Regions from separate parts of the Homo sapiens genome. Here region 1 is linked to region 2. Evidence: promoter capture Hi-C in 16 types of primary human blood cells and fetal thymus (Javierre and others, 2016). All regions are on one chromosome and are shown on one strand. Each heading gives the region's core, a stretch centred on a gene start or on the middle of the fragment in contact. The rest is flanking DNA. Distances are from core to core; before and after follow the strand shown.

Region 1 (3,692 bases), core at 518-3,017, 720 kb before region 2:
GCCAGACCCCATCTCCACAAAAATAATCCCAGCTACTCAGGAAGCTGACATGGGGGGTACTGCTTGAGGCCCGGAGTTCAAGACCAACTTGGGCTACATCATGAGACCCCATTTCTACAAAAATAAAAAATAAAACGGAACGGGGAGCATCTACGTGCCAAGATGTGGGAGGTGCACACAGCAAGTGCTGCTTGGCAGTCCCCCACAACCCCACTCCACACCTCTCCACCCAGGGGAGTTCCCCAGCAAGGAAGAGTTCAGCTGTGGGGTGAAAACATTACGTGCTGACTCTGACACTCCTGGCGGGCCCCCAGCACCTCCTCGGACCCAACAAGGTGTGCCTTCTGCTGATGACCAGCACAGCTCACTTTCGAGGGCATGAGAAGACCAAGGGTGAGTCTGGATTCTCTGCCAGGAGCACGGGAAGACCAAGTCAACACCAGCAAGCACGAAAACCACGACGAACCCCCCACCAGGCGAGGGTGAACGGACACTGTCCTGCACTAGCCCACTCTGCTGGGCAGCTGGGCAGCAGCTGTGGCTAATCTAAGTGACGGGTGCTTCGAGAGCACCCACAGGTTAAAACGGGCCCAGGCCATGACACTTTAAAATGGTGGTTTACAGAACAATGGCATCTCAGATTAGGGAATGACCTGCAAAGACCCTCTTGTCCCCATCAATCCAGATTTTAAGGCCTCTACCGAAATTGATCAAATCAGGCTAAGCATGGTGGCTCACGCCTGTAACCCTAGCACTTTGGGAGGCTGAGGCAGGCAGATCGCTTGAGGTCAGGACTTCGAGACCAGCCTGGCCAACATGGTGAAACCCCGTCTCTACTAAAAATACAAAAATTAGCCGGACCTGGTGGTGGGTGCCTGTAATCCCAACTTAGGAGGCTGAGGCAGCAGAATCACAGGAACCTGGAAGGCGGAGCTTGCAGTGAGCTGAGATCGCGCCACTGCACTCCAGCCTGGGCGACAAAGTGAGACTCCGTCTCAAAAAAACAGAAAAGAAACTGGTCAAATCAGATGTTACTTTTTTTTTTTTTAAATGTGCAGTGTTATCTGCACTCCTTCCTTCCACAGGCAGGAGTTCTCTGAAATCCAGACGCTGCACGTTTTATTTCCCCTAATTTAAACCAGGGGTTCCTGAACATGAGCGAGTGTTCATCACCTCAAGCGCCTGTAGAAATGCAGATCCCCAGCCCCCAGAGACCCTAAGTGGACCCCAGATCCCCAGCCCCCAGGTGAAAAACCCATCCCCCAGGTGGGAGGTCCGGCCCCAGGTGAGGAGCCCGGCCCCAGGTGAGAGGTCCAGCCCCAGGTGAGAGGTCGGGCCCCCGGATGAGAGGTCCGGCCCCCGGGTGAGAGGTCTGGCCCCCAGGTGACAGGTCCAGCCCCAGGTGAGGAGCCCGGCCCCAAGTGAGGGGTGCAGCCCCAGGTAAGGAGCACGGGGCTGTGACGCGTGGACATGCGCGGTGAGGCCTCAGGAATCCAGCGCCAGCGCCAGCTCGGGTCGCGCCCTCGCCCGCCTCCTCCCTGGTCTCGCCGCGCGCCCGCCTGAAGGCCCCGGTCGCGGCAGCGCGCACTGACCTCCGCAGCTCCCGGCGGCGTCCTTCGAAGCGCGGCTGCCTGGGCCAGCCTCGGCAGGAAGCAGGACGGCGGAAACAGAACAGAGCCCGAATCTAAAGTCCTTGCCCAAATCTAAAGTGGCTACCGCAGCCCCGGCCGCTACGGCCGCAGAGACCCTCTGTGCCCTGAGTAAAGATGGCCGCCGCGGGCTGCGCGCGAGGGGCGGGGAGCGGGAGGCGGGGTCGGACCTGCACGCCCCGCCCCCGGACTCCTGGCGGCCGCTGATCCGGGGCCTTCCCATTGGTCACCTCTCGTGGCGAACTCGGATTGGGCCATATCAGGCCGGGGCGGGTCCCATCAACCAATAGCGGCGCGGGGCTGGCGGGTGGGGCGGGGCCTCGCCGGCGCCGTCAAGTAGCCTGGGGGACAGGCCGGCGCGGCTGGGAGCGGGTGGGCGGCCGGGAGGCCGGAGCAGCACGGCCGCAGGACCTGGAGCTCCGGCTGCGTCTTCCCGCAGCGCTACCCGCCATGCGCCTGCCGCGCCGGGCCGCGCTGGGGCTCCTGCCGCTTCTGCTGCTGCTGCCGCCCGCGCCGGAGGCCGCCAAGAAGCCGACGCCCTGCCACCGGTGCCGGGGGCTGGTGGACAAGTTTAACCAGGTGGGAAGGGGCCGGGCGGGGTCGTCAACCTTGGGCCCGGGGTCCCCCTCACCCTGCATCCGGGGTCGCCCCACCTTGGGCCCAGGGTCGCCCTCACCCTGGATCCGGGGTCCCCCTCACCCTGGATTCGGGATCCCCCTCACCGTCGATCCAGAGTCCCTCCACCGTGGTCCTGGAGTCCCCCTCACCCTTGACCCGGATCCACCCCCACCGTGGAACCAGGGTCGACGCCACCGTGGGCCTGGAGTCCCCTCACCCTCGACCTGGGCTCGCCCCCACCCTGGACCCGGGTCAGGTGGTACCAAGCACTATGGGCACTGTCTCCTCGCAGGGGATGGTGGACACCGCAAAGAAGAACTTTGGCGGCGGGAACACGGCTTGGGAGGAAAAGACGCTGTCCAAGTACGAGTCCAGGTGGGTGCCCTGGAGCACCCCTGTGGGTCTTGGCCTGGCGCTGTCCTGGGAAGTCGTGTCCTGCCTTTGGTGCCTGTGTTAATGACAGGGAGACAGAACAGCCCCCGAGGCACCAGTCACCCGTCCGAGTCACCTCGGCTTCTCCCTGAGGACTAATGGCTGGCCCCTCTCTGGCCTTCCAGCTTCTGCTCTGGTCCCTACCCCCTCAACAGACAGTGGCTTTTCAAAATGTAAACTGGAACACCAGCCCCACTTGTGGGAACCGCTCCTGGCTTCCCCTGACAGTGGGGTCCCCTTATTCTCTGTGCCCGGAGTCCTGGCTCCCCGGCCCCTGCACCCAGGTTGGCGTATTGGTTCGGATTTTTCTTCACTGCCTTGGAGGCGCTGACGGTGGGCCGGTGTGGGCCTGTGTTTCAGCGAGATTCGCCTGCTGGAGATCCTGGAGGGGCTGTGCGAGAGCAGCGACTTCGAATGCAATCAGATGCTAGAGGCGCAGGAGGAGCACCTGGAGGCCTGGTGGCTGCAGCTGTGAGTGCCTTAAAACCTCTTAGAAGATACTTTTTATTTTCCAACTTAGAATTTGAAATAACCTCAGACTTAGAAAGGTACAGGAACAGTAGGGAGCTCCCACCTGCCTCGCACCCACCTTACCCCTGCATTACCGTTTTTTATCACCAGAGTCAGCGATCAAAACCAGGAAATTAAGGAGAAGATTCTGTCCACACCTAGACTCTTGTTTCCTGGACCTTACAATACTCCAGAGCATATGTTACGTTCAGCTGCATGTTTGTTTTAAAGAACCGTGTCTGCTGGGATTCAGTGAATGTTTTCCTCCATCCTCAGGAAGAGCGAATATCCTGACTTATTCGAGTGGTTTTGTGTGAAGACACTGAAAGTGTGCTGCTCTCCAGGAACCTACGGTCCCGACTGTCTCGGTGCGTTTCTCCTCAGGGAAATCCCATCTCCTACGTCACTTCCCCTCTTCTTCTCATGATTCTTGGGAGGTAAAAGCACAGAGGGGACCTGGGGTGCATCAGCTTTCTGTAGGGT
Region 2 (3,800 bases), core at 3-2,502:
AGCTAATTTTCTTTTTTTTTCTTTTTTTTTTTTGTATTTTTAGTAGACATGGGGTTTCACCGTGTTGGCCAGGCTGGTCTCGAACTCCTGACCTTGTGATCCGGCTGCCTCGGCCTCCCAAAGTGCTGGGATTACCAGCGTGAGCCACGCACCCAGCCAACTTTTGACTTTGTGCGGAACTCATTTGTTGTTGACCCTTTCCCCCTCCACTGGCAGCTTTTGATTTCCTTTCTTTGAGCTCTTTGGGGTGGCTCTGGATGTCATCAGGACTGCTTTGCGCCTCTTTGGAGATGGCTTATGTGTCCTTGGTTAAGTCCATAGCTTTAGTTAAGGCTTATTGGTTTTGGTGAGTCACTTGGGAGGTACCTTTGGTTTTAAAAAAAAAGGTCTCAAAGCCATGGCTATCAGCTGTTGGTCTCAGCTAAAATCTGATAATAAGATATTTGAAAGGATTTTAAAAAAGAGCTCTGTGGTCAGAAGTTGGCTTAATTAAAAACAGGTGAGCTGATCTTCAAGCCATGTATCTACAGCCTTTTCTGCTTTTGGACCCTGTTTCTGGGAATTTTTTTTTCAGGTGACTGAAACCCCTTTAAATTGTGTGTTTGGTCCTTCTGTTTGGTTCCTTTGTTGGTATAATTTTGATGAGAAAAATGTAAAATTGTATTGGCCTTTTAGAACCTTAACATTTTTCCAAATTGGCTCCTCTAAGGATTGCAGTCCCATTTACTTCTACCCCTCCGTGCTCCTCCATCCCCTTTGCCATCTTTGGTACCTAATGAAGGGATCTACAAGGGACTTCTGATGACTTAGAGACCCCTTGGGGAACGCAAAGAAAGGTGCCACGCGCCCCGCTTTTGTCTTCCTTATGGGGCCTGAGGAGTCGTGGGTAGCTTCCTCTCGGGTCTAAAGCTTGGCTGTCTTTGGCACTGTGTCACTGGATCTCTTTGGCTTTGGGGGTACCAGGGATTACGTTGCACTGTGAGACAGTGCATGACCTGAGTGTGTGTGATGGCCGGCAGGTCACTGGCGAGGGCTGCCTCACAGTTTTGGAGGTGGCTGAAAGCAGTTGTAGTGAATGGTTGTTCCTGCAGTGGCTGCTTGTTTCTCTGCATGTTTAGATGAGAAAGGCACAATCTGAACACTTGGAGACTATGGAAGCACTTGGCGTCAAAGGCTGAGACTCCGTGGGCTGATTGCTGTGGGTCTCCCACCAGCCTCAGGGGAATGTCTTCATAGTGAGGTACACTGTGGAAACACTGTATGGCTTTGTCTCATATATATCTCTTTTTAGAGGGAACTCAGCATTCAGTGTAAATGTGGGATCCTTGATTTTAAAAGATCTAGATGCTCTGCCTTCCAGCTGCACCTGTTTTTCACATATTTAAATATTAGGTCCTCCAAACTGCAAATGCTTTTTTGGCCATGTTCATTAATGAGCTCTGTCCTGAGCCCAGTGGTCTAGTTCAAAAATGGAGAATAAATTAATAGCCACATATTTAAATAACATTGTTGTCCTTATAAAATCCTGTGGTGAATTTCTATGACTTTTTGTTACCTCAGCATCCATTTAAAATCTTCCTTTAACATACTAAATCAAAGCTTAAACTTTCTCCCTGTGGAATTGCTTGAACCAAGGAGGCAGAGGTTGCAGTGAGTCAAGATCGTGCCGTTGCACTCCAACCTGGGCGACAGAGCAAGACTCCGTCTTGAAAAAATTCAGTAAATAAAAATAATTTTTTTTTCTCTGTGCTTCAAGATGTAAATTTGTTGCCTTGTTTTCTCTAAAACTTGGTAAGGGCTTTGGCCGTGTGAGACAGATAAATTTTACCTTGTTCCATTTACAGAGGCACAATTTTAAGTATCCTTTTAAACTAGTGATTTTTACCCGATTCGTGGCTAAAATCTTAAAACTAAAGCTATAAAATCTTGATTTGTGTCTGTATTTTTATGTGTACATGCCTGTTTGTATATTATGTACATAGTAGCAAATTGACGTATAAATAAATAAGTGCTCATGAATGATGTAACTAAACCCAGATGCTTTTCTAGTTCATGTGACTAGTAATCTTTGGCAAATAAACTTAGTTTTAAAATTGTTGCTGCTGGGTGCAGTGGCTCACACCTGTAATCCCAGCACTTTGGGAGGCTGAGGCGGGCAAATCACGAGGTCAAGAGATCGAGACCATCCTGGCCAACATGGTGAAACCCCGTCTCTACTAAAAATACAAAAATTAGCCAGGCGTGGTGGCATGCGCCTGTAGTCCTAGCTACTCAGGAGGCTGAGGCAGGAGAATCACTTGAACCTGGGAGGTAGAGGTTGCAGTGAGCCGAGACTGCACTACTGCACTCTAGCCTGGGTGACAGAGTGAGACTCCATCTCAAAAAAAAAAATGATGCTAAAATTAGAATATCTTCAAAGTCGTCAGTCTTAAATATAATTGAGACATCTTTGCTTGGGCCCATTGGTCGGACAGGTTCAGACAGTCTCTGTTAGATGCTTTAAGGTCATAAAATTTGCTTCTGTCATATTTCTGATACTTGCTTAATTTGTCTGTGAACTTAGGTCTTTGGCTTTGAGCCTCTACATTCTGGGGTCAAGACAAGTGGACATGATGTGGCCTGGAGACATCTGTGTGTCCGCAGTACCTAAGCCCCATCCTCCCTGGCCCAGCTGTACCCCCCGGTCATGCTGTTTGTCTGCAGTGCCCGAGCCCCGTCCTCCCTAGCCCAGCTGTGCCCCCCGGCCATACTGTGTGTCTGCAGTGCCTGAGCCCCGTCCTCCCTAGCCCAGCTGTGCGCCCCAGCCATGCTGTGTGTCTGCAGTGCCCGAGCATTGTCCTCTCTTGCCCAGCTGTGCCCCCCGGTCATGCTGTGTGTCTGCAGTGCCCGAGCATTGTCCTCCCTGGCCCAGCTGTGCCCCCCGGTCATGCTGGGAGGGGTTGAGTCCTCCAGGCATTGTCTTTGTAGTAGCCCATTCTCACACTGCTAATAAAGACATACCTGAGACTGGGTGATTTGTAAAGGAAAGAGGTTTAATTGACTCACAGTTCAGCGTGGCTGGGAAGCCTCAGGAAACTTACAATCATGGCGGAAGAGGAAGCAAACACGTTCTTCACATGAGGTCAGGAAGGAGGTGTGCAGAGCGAAGAGTGGGGAAGCACCTCATGAAACCATGAGACCTCGTGAGAACTCACTAGCACAAAAACAGCGTGGGGGAACCGCCCCCTTCATCTAATCACCTCCCACTGGGTCCCTCCCACAACACCTGTGGATTTTGGGAACTACAGTTCAAGATGAGATTTGGGTGGGGACACAGCCAAACCATATCAGTCTTTAAAGCTCTGTCCTTTGTCCTGGGCTTTGCATCTTTAATAACAATTAAAATTGCTTACTTCCCATGTTTTTCACTGAAAATTAGGCTTCCTAAGAGTTAACATTGTAATTAATATATGTATTTAAAACTACTAGATATAAGAGAAACACTTCTGTATGCAAAGTTTATAAGAAAGTAGGATGTGTTTTTGGTAAGGAAGGTTATAAAGAAGGCATGAGAATGAGGTTTTTGTTAAAGGAAAAGTAATTTTGTCTAGTTTTGATGTTTTTAAAGGTTGTTTTAAATTAAAGGAATAAAAAAATGATAGATAAAACTGAATATATATAGAAAGTTTGAGAAACAAAGAATGGAACAAATTTTAAGAGGTTATTAAAGGTTTATGGAAATCTTATGTGGTCAAAGCTGATTGAGATTGAATGGATCTGTTTTTAAGTTTTTATTAAAATTAGCTTTAGTATTAATAATA

The links. Contacts are between HindIII fragments. The CHiCAGO score rates a contact against its expected background, and 5 or more counts as called.
Region 1: the fragment with the promoter of ALG12 here is called in contact with a fragment that was not itself captured in region 2 in 1 of 17 cell types (erythroblasts); the score reaches 5.1 in erythroblasts.

The regions. Positions count from the first base shown.
Region 1 is chr22:49,916,671-49,920,362 of GRCh38, forward strand. It overlaps ALG12 (ALG12 alpha-1,6-mannosyltransferase), which reads right to left and starts at 1,768. Exons shown (of 10, transcript NM_024105.4): 1 at 1,593-1,768. It overlaps CRELD2 (CRELD disulfide isomerase 2), which reads left to right and starts at 1,964. Exons shown (of 10, transcript NM_024324.5): 1 at 1,964-2,228; 2 at 2,560-2,642; 3 at 3,060-3,170; 4 at 3,486-3,577. The coding sequence starts at 2,100. RefSeq lists silencers at 1,358-1,557, 1,668-2,167. The HindIII fragment of the contact is 6,188 bases long and covers 1-3,692 here.
Region 2 is chr22:50,632,980-50,636,779 of GRCh38, forward strand. LOC124905149 (a long non-coding RNA gene) reads left to right here. Exons shown (of 2, transcript XR_007068161.1): 1 at 1-1,719; 2 at 2,564-3,027. Among named protein-coding and RNA genes, the nearest start is that of ARSA, 6.7 kb to the left of the region's middle. RefSeq lists enhancers at 2,283-2,799, 2,800-3,314. The HindIII fragment of the contact is 690 bases long and covers 908-1,597 here.